3 separate regions of the Homo sapiens genome follow, and all the other regions are linked to region 3. Evidence: promoter capture Hi-C in 16 types of primary human blood cells and fetal thymus (Javierre and others, 2016). All regions are on one chromosome and are shown on one strand. Each heading gives the region's core, a stretch centred on a gene start or on the middle of the fragment in contact. The rest is flanking DNA. Distances are from core to core; before and after follow the strand shown. Region 1 overlaps PEBP4 (phosphatidylethanolamine binding protein 4). Region 2 overlaps PEBP4 (phosphatidylethanolamine binding protein 4). Region 3 holds the start of EGR3 (early growth response 3).

Evidence for each region. The method cuts DNA at HindIII sites, captures the fragments that hold promoters and counts their contacts. A CHiCAGO score of 5 or more calls a contact.
Region 1: a contact is called between a fragment that was not itself captured here and the fragment with the promoter of EGR3 in region 3, in 4 of 17 cell types (endothelial precursors, fetal thymus, total CD8 T cells and 1 more). The highest score is 6.7, in endothelial precursors.
Region 2: a contact is called between a fragment that was not itself captured here and the fragment with the promoter of EGR3 in region 3, in 1 of 17 cell types (M1 macrophages). The highest score is 5.9, in M1 macrophages.

The regions. Positions count from the first base shown.
Region 1 is chr8:22,915,272-22,917,971 of GRCh38, reverse strand. All of the region lies in intron 3 of PEBP4 (phosphatidylethanolamine binding protein 4), which reads left to right. Among named protein-coding and RNA genes, the nearest start is that of PEBP4, 11 kb to the left of the region's middle. The HindIII fragment of the contact is 556 bases long and covers 1,155-1,710 here.
Region 2 is chr8:22,893,597-22,896,296 of GRCh38, reverse strand. All of the region lies in intron 3 of PEBP4 (phosphatidylethanolamine binding protein 4), which reads left to right. It overlaps LOC124901907 (a long non-coding RNA gene), which reads left to right. Exons shown (of 2, transcript XR_007060854.1): 2 at 1-1,246. Among named protein-coding and RNA genes, the nearest start is that of PEBP4-AS1, 17 kb to the right of the region's middle. The HindIII fragment of the contact is 1,551 bases long and covers 481-2,031 here.
Region 3 is chr8:22,692,161-22,694,860 of GRCh38, reverse strand. It overlaps EGR3 (early growth response 3), which reads left to right and starts at 1,381. Exons shown (of 2, transcript NM_004430.3): 1 at 1,381-2,070. The coding sequence starts at 1,917. It overlaps LOC105379321 (a long non-coding RNA gene), which reads right to left and starts at 4. Exons shown (of 3, transcript XR_001745832.2): 1 at 1-4. RefSeq lists silencers at 90-309, 1,192-1,355, 1,300-1,419, 2,282-2,351 and enhancers at 420-519, 560-669, 502-1,147. The HindIII fragment of the contact is 8,376 bases long and covers 1-2,700 here.

The DNA of each region.
Region 1 (2,700 bases), core at 183-2,682, 220 kb before region 3:
GGTGCTCAGTGTCACCAGGAATCTGTCTCTTGATTGTTTTTTTCTGTGCTGTTTTCATTTGTAAATAGAGTCTTCCCTTGTGACAAAGATGGCCCCAACAGCCTTAGGTTTGTGTTTGACCAATTTGTCAACCCCAGTGGAAATAGGGTTTTCCATCCATTAAAAGTCACAGGATTGGTCTCGCTTTGGTCTTGTGCCTATCCCTGAACCTAGCAGTGACCCTCTACAGCTCCCCTTAATCTACAAGGACTGAGAGTAGAGGAGGATGGTTGCCCTGAATGCAAGTCAAGGTGTGATTGATCAGATAAGGGTGAAAGGATGTTAGGTAGGAAATGCAAGGCAGGTCCTATGGAAGTGAGTAATCTGGCCAAGTACAGAGCTGAAAGGTGCCAGAGCCAGAGTCAAAGCCAGGTCTGCCCAACTCCAGAGCCCATGGGCCTGGCCAGTGGGCCACTGGCAAGGGCTCTAAGGGAGACACCAGGGGGCGCTGGCACAGGCAGGGGTGGGCTGGCCGAAGGGAAGCTTTCCCTGGTTAGAATGGAAGGGGGTGGGCAGGAAGGATAGTTCTTCCTAGGGAAGGTGGTAGTTGGAGCTTCCCTTAAGGGAGAGGGCATGACTGGTGAGGCTGGAGGAGCAAGTGCTACCTGGGTCCCTCAAGAAAAGGGTGCGGGGAGCCTGAGTGTTTAGGACAGAGAAGAGCATGAAGGTATTTCTTCTGGGCCTGATGGAGAAGGGCACGAGTTGGTGACTGCTATGTGGGGATGGTGCATTGCTTCCAAGGTGACTGAAGCAATGCCACCAAAGCAGTGACTGCCATTGGACATGCCTGGGAACACCCCCCCCTCCCCCGCCCCCAGCAAACTCCAAAGCCCTGGAAAGAGGGGTGCAGCAGTGCCTCTGTGCCCACCATAGAGCTTCCCACCTCCATATTCTGGCATTGGCCACTTCCCCATCCTTGGCGTCTTTGGACCCTGCTCCCGTCACAATGCTTCCTCCTCTAGGAAGCCTTCCCTGACTGCCTCCCTCTGGGCTCCACCTACATCCCTGGCTGATCTTTTCTTTCTCTGTGCTTTTAAAATGTTCCTACCCTCTAAACTGGGTTTTGACTTCCCTGTGTCTTGTGCTGTAGTTGCTCATTCCTGTCTCTCAAAGCTTCAAGCACTTTGTAAGTTAGGAGAGAAAGACTATGTGTTGTCTTTCTTTGAGTCACCCGTGGGCCCCACCAGCACCTCAGATGCCATGCTGGCTGACTGGGTGACTAGGTGAGAGAGTGAACAGGTGAATGCATGAATGCATGAATGCATGAATGAATGAATGAATGAATGACATGTGGGAGAGCATCTCCTGGAGTGTGAGCTATGAGCTGTGTCAGCCAAACTGTCGGCCCTTTCAGCATCTGTTGAAGGAAAGCTGCTAAACCTAGTGAACCCAGGGCAGCAGGACTCTCTCCTCCCCCTAGGGGTGGGGTGTGAGCTGGGGGGTGGGTGGGGAAGCAGGCAGAGAAAGAGAGGAAGTCAGGCAGGTTCATGAGAAGGCAAAGTAACACAGGAAAACGTGGCTGGCTCCCGTGCCAGCTATGGCTGAGCGAGAGAGGTGTGGAAGTAAGAGGAAGCGTTTCTCCCCTGGCGCTCTGACAAACATGAAGAGGCAAACATTTAAAAATGCATCCCGTTCTCAAGCCAAGGAAAACTGAAAGGCCCCTGAGAAGCTTCTTGACTGGGGGCTTATTCTCCACCTTAAATTTCGCCAGCTGGAATCCTTTTGAAGTGCAGAAATTGCCTTTAAGTGGGGAATGTGCATTGCATTACAGGGAGGGAACAAAAGGCTGCCTCGGTCTGTCCTGCTCTCCCTGGAGTTTCCAATCAGGCTTGGCCCAGGCACTATTTCTTCTCCTCACAAAGCAGGTGGCCCTGAGTGCCCTATCCACCTGGGTCAGTGCATTTCATGCCAGCCCAGGCCTCTAGCCGCAGCCTCCCAGGGAGCACCTTCTCGCCCTCATTGGCCCATGGTGGAGACACAAGTTTCAACCCAAATTTTCTAGAGGCCTGGAACTCTCCTCTCTATAAGAGAGCTCGGAACTCACAGGTCCACCGCCCCTACCAACCCTTCTCTGTATACACAGAGCAGAAAAATACAGGCTGCTGCAGTCACAAAATGATTAGCCGAGGAAGGACACGGGGCTCCCAACACCCACAGCAATTCTAGAAGAACAGACCCTAATGGATGGAGCAGAGACGTCTTCCAGTAGACTACATGTGGAGTCTCCTCTCCTACATGTGGAGGCGGTCAAGTGCAGGCCCACTGGCTCAGGGGACTGCAGCCGCCATGGACTATTTGGTGTTGGGGATGGGCGGTGACTCACTTCGTAAATATTACTGAACACATTGCATCAGGCACCATGTCAGTGCTATTGATTCAGAGACGAAAGACACTATCACGGAGCTTGCAGTATAGCTGGGGAGATAGACAGGTAGCGGGCAAGCATGGGGACACAGGGTGTCAGTGAGCCGGGACCCAGCAAGGGACAGATGGGAGCCAGGATGGTGAGGTGAGGGATGAGGCTTGTGGTTGGGTCGGGGGTCGGGGCGGGTAGGGCAGGGGCACATCCATGGTTAGGAGCCAAGAACTTCATGGCCCTGGTGTGGAGTTTAGAGTTTATCTTAAAGTTTGGCTGGTGGCTGGGGGAGGAGAGTCACCATT
Region 2 (2,700 bases), core at 7-2,506, 200 kb before region 3:
GCAAAACTCAACCATTCCTGATTAATTAGTATTACCGTGGCCTATGTATTTCTCTAGTTCAGATCTTCATCAGATCACACTCCAGCTATGACAGTGATTGTCCAAGCTCCATTCCCTGTCTCTCCTCCCAGACTAGGACATCTTCTTCTTCTGGGTTCCCACATCATTCTAGGTTCCAGTGGCACTTTTCTTACTTGATGCAAGGATGTGGGATTTGGGAACATGGTTTCATCTCTCCAACCACAATACCAGCAACTTTCAGGCAACTGTCTGATGCCACACAGCAAATCTGCCCCAGGGCAGAGGGGGCAGTAGGTAGGCAGTAACTGGGAGCACAGGCAGAGAGGCTGGCATGAAGAAACCTGCCCATGGGAAGCAGGGCCAATGCCACCTAGGCTGGGTTCAAGGATGTGGCCAAAAAAGCAGAACTTCCGACAAACTTGGAAAACTAGTCAGGTTACTGAAACAGGAACTTAAGCTTCTCAGCAAATTAGACGTAACATATAAACTGGAAAAATCAGTGAACTTGAAGATAGAGCAACAGAAATGATCTAAAGAAATATAAAGAGAGAAAAGAAGGCTGGGGGACAGAACAGAGCACCCAAGCATTGTGAGACAACATAAAATGGTCTAACATATGTATAGTTGGGATCTCATTAAGAAAAGAGAGCAGAGTAGAACTATTTGAAGAGATAATGACCAAGAACTTGTTAAAGAAAGGCAACATACCACAAGTCCAAGATACTCAGAGAACCTTAATCAGAATTTTTAAAAAAATCCACCTAGATGTGTCATGATCAAACTGCTAAAAACCAAAGATAAATTCTGAAGACAACCAAGGAAAACAGAATGCCGGTGTCCCCCTCACCAAAGCATGTCTAAATGCTTGTGAAGAAAGTATGTTCTCCTGGGACAGAGTGAAGGAGGGTATGTGGGGAACACATGTGTAAGCCCACCCCAACATTATTATGCCTCTCCAGGTATTAAGATTCCTTGCTTTATATCAAGGAACTTCTGTCACCTTAGCTTTATTTAGTATAGGATGCCATTCAGTTCAGGTTTCATTTCAGATAACCCACTGAGTGAACAGAACCATACCCAGATGATCCAGCCAGTACTTTGGATCCAGAATCCATATTGATCAATATGGCCCAATTGAAAATGATCTTCTTTCCTCCGTGATCAGCACCTTACTATACATTTCTCAGATTTCTGCCAATAAATATTAAAAAACAAATGGCACCTACTTTGGTGTGAAAGTCTACTGTTTCAGAATCAGACTTTGTGCTTGTCTCCCTTGGCCATGCTGAAATCTGATTCTAGAATAGGTCAGGAGCAGCCAGGGGTGGTAAGTGTCGACCTCAGGGAGAATCAGGATTCTCTTGCAAGACAGGACCTGGGGAAAAGGGGCAGCTTCTGCTGGAAAGGGAGGCTCAGCAGGGTCTAAGACTCAGTTATATGAATTCAGCATCCCCATTCACAGGGTTCCATCTTTCCCAGTCAACACCATCTCCCATAAGAGACCTGATGAGGCTGTGAACTTAACTTAGGTTGTAATTCTACAACCTGCTGGGTCAGACTTCACTTCTGATTTCAGTTTTGTTGGCCCTGAAACTACAAACCGTGGGAGATTCTTTCAGGATAGTCTTAACTGTTCCTTGCTCTTCTGATTGAGCCTTGAGCCAAGAATTTATTACTATTTTATTTTATTTTTAGAGACAGGGTCTCACTCTGTTGCCCAAGCTGGAGTGCAGTGGCATGATTACGGTTCACTGCAGCCTTGACCTCCTGGAATCAAGCAATCTTCCCACCTCAGCCTCCTGAGTAGCTGGGACTACAGGCACATGCCACTATGCTTGGAATTTTTTTTATTTATTTTTTATTTTTTGTAGAGACAGGGTCTTACCATGTTGCCTGGGCTGGTCTCGAACTCCTGGGCTGAAGCCATCCATCTGCCTTGGCTTCCCAAAGTGCTGGGATTATAGAGTGAGCCACTATGCATGGCTGTGCCAAGAATTTAAACCTCAAGCTTCTAACCATTTTTCTTTACTTTTCCCACTTCTGGCAGAAGAAGTCATCTTATTCCAACATCTTTATATTCATCATTCTGACATAATAATCTATCGTGCAATTCCGCCAAACTCTTATCTTCAATGGGTACTTTGTTCTAGGTAATCACACTTGATAATCAAGATTATTTTGCTACTATATGCCGCGGGCTGCCAGTGACACATTTGCTAATGGTAACCTGTGCTCTCATCTTCACTGGTTTTAAGCAATTTGATTGTGATGTGTTTGGTGTAGTTTTCTCATGTGTCTTGTGCTTGGCATTTCTTTGGTTGGGCTTCTGGGATCTGTGGGTTTACAGTTTTCATCAAATTAAGACATTTTTCAGCCATTATGTCTTCTAATATTTTTTCTAATATTCCCTAAAAGGGAATTTTAGGGACTCCTATTGCATGTATATTTGGCTACTTGAAGATGTCCCACAGCTCACTGATATGCTATTCTGGTGGGTTTTTTTCAGTCTTTTTTCTCTCTGTGTTTTATTTTGAATAGTTTCTATTGCTGTGTCTTCAAGTTCACTAATATCTTATTCTGTATAGTTAACCTTCTGTTAAATCTCATCCAGTGTACTCTTCATCACAGACAATGAAATTGTTATCTCTTCAAATCTGAATTGGGTCTTTAAAAATATTT
Region 3 (2,700 bases), core at 132-2,631:
TCAACACTCCCACTCCCCCCGAGAAATGCACGTTCCCCCAACCCCGACTCCCCAGGAGGGGACGAGGGATTCACCGCGCCCACGCGGCCACCGAGGAGGGAATCCTCCCCCGCCAAGCCGATGTGATTTGGGGTCGCACCCCCATGCTCCCGCCCTCTCCTCCCCCTCGCCCGCGGGCCGGCTGCGCGCGCCTCGGGAGCAGGCCCCAGGGAGCACAGCAGCCGCCCCCGGGATCTGCTGCCGCTCCGGGAGGTGAAAGCGCTCCGGGTCGGCACACAGGCCGCCCTTGACTGCGGAGCGCCGGCAGGCAGCAATGGGGACAGCCCTGTGGAAGGCGAGGGGGAGGGCAGAGACTAGGGGAGGCCCCCAGTGGCTCAGAGACTGTGGGTTCGGCGTCCTCCTTCTGGAACTCTGGCGGGCCCTTCGCAGGCAGCAGTAGACAGCGACTGCGCCCGGGCCTGCTGGGCCCTCCTGCCATCCTGTGGCCACAGAGGCTGCTTGGAACCGTTAGGGAATTTACTGGGGATTCAGTGCACGTGTTTATCTATCCCTTCAACTTCATTCTTTCCTCTTCACCACGAAAACCGCACATCCTCGACCCCATATGGATGGGGCTCTTGTCTTTGGCGCAACTGCTGGGGTGCTCCGAATCTCCTCGCCACTGCGCTCAGCCTAGAGTCAGCGCCGGGTCAGGGGCCCAGGGAGGGGCAGGGGCGGCGAATCAGAGTGAAGTTGGCACAAAAGTTCTTGGGATATTGGACCAAGGAATTCTGACAAGTTGAAACACCCCCCCAACCCTGCGCGCACCCCTCCTTCCCCCCACAAAGGGAAGCACTCCCTTTCTCTTAATCTCGGATAGGATCCCGAACGCTGGAGCCGCTGAGGTAGCAGGGGCGCAACGCACGCCTTCCGGGTTCCCCAGCAGTTCCCGGGCTGCAAAGGGATTTCGCCAGATGTTTTCAACTCTCTTTCTAACTGCTGGGGTGTTGGAGACCACTTGCAAACAACCCCACCCCACCGCCCACCTCTCCCCAATGCGCTCTCCTAACGCAAACCTCAAATAAACACACACAATGAGTTACTGGTGTTTCGACTCCACGCTACGCGCTTTGCGCTTTGCATGCAGCTGTATCCTTCTTTCCTCTCTCTTCTCGCATTCTTCTTGTTTCTTCTCCCCTTCTCTTTTTTTCAAGAGCCGCGAGCGGTGCGGGCGCCGCACGTTGGCTGCGGCCCGCTTCCTGCTTTCTAATGTTCCATTGTGAGGAGCTTCCATTGTGACGTCGCGCCCCTTCGGCTGGGCTTTGTCTGTCCATATATGGGCAGCTACGTCACGGAGCTTTCCCGGGGCTCAGATAAATAGGCTGGTGGAGTTCCCTGGCTGGGAGCTTTTGGGCAGCAGTGAGCTTGCTAGGAAGCGGCGGGGCTGGTGGTGGTGGTAGCAGCGGCGGCAGCGGCGGCAGAGGCGGCGGCGGCGGCGGCGGCGGCGGCGGCGGTGGCGGTGGCGGTGGCGGTGGCAGATCGGGGGGCGGGGGGGCGGCGGGCGCGTGTCTGTTTGTGAGATCAATACTGAGGCCGCGTCCGACCCCCTTGAGCCGAGATCCCCCCCCAGCCCAGCCCCCACCCCACCCCCCGCACACGCCCCACCCCCCCCACGACCCAGCCTCATACCGCACCAGCTGAGGCACCCAAGAGGATTACCCCCTGGGGCCCTCTCCCGCCCCCCAAAAAAGAGAAGATCCCCTCTCCTGGCCCATCCCTTCCCTTCTTCCCTCCCCCCTCCCCCCGAACTTTCCCTCTCGCATGCTTTTCCCCTGCACCACGGATCGCCTCTCGGATGCCGCTTGCCTGGAAGCTGCGTTAGGAGCGAGCGGCGGCGGTGGCGGCGGTGGCGGCGGCGGCGGCAGCTCGGGAGTGCTATGACCGGCAAACTCGCCGAGAAGCTGCCGGTGACCATGAGCAGTTTGCTAAACCAACTGCCTGACAATCTGTACCCCGAGGAGATCCCCAGCGCGCTCAACCTCTTCTCCGGCAGCAGCGACTCGGTAGTCCATTACAATCAGATGGCTACAGGTAAGGGCGGCGGGGAGGCGGCGAGGCAGCGAGGAAGGAAGGGGAGAGGAAGAGGAGGAGGGGACGACCTGGTGATGGATGGATGGATGGATGGATGGATGGATGGATGGATGGGTGGATGGGTGGATAGATAAATGGATGGAGAGATGGGGGCGCGCTGGGAATTTTGCGGGGGGCGAGTTGCTTTTCCCACCCACTCCTCCCGCCCTCCTCGATCGAGAAGGCTAGGTTGGCGACGCCACGGTAGAGGCTTCGGTTCTCCCGGGTGGGGGCAGCCGCCGACCGGAGGGAGGTAGGTGCGAGCGGCTCTGGGGTTCTCCCTCACCACGCAGGGGGCCCGATCGCCGGGCTACGCGCAAGGCGTGGTGCTGTCGCCCTCTTCCCGGGAGGAGCCCGGCGTCTTTTTCACCCGCGCTCTCCCCCCTTACTCCCTCAGCCTCCCACCCGGGATGGAGCCATGTGCGGCGTGGAGTCCCCGCGGTGGGAGAGGTACTGCGACGCTGCCTTTCCGGGGCGTTCAGCAAAGCCGTGGGGGTGTGGGGACGGCGGGGAGAAGGAGGGGGTTCACCCGCGGGGCGAGGGCCTGCCACGGGGAACGATCCCGGGGCCGGGGAGCTGGGGAAGGGCGGC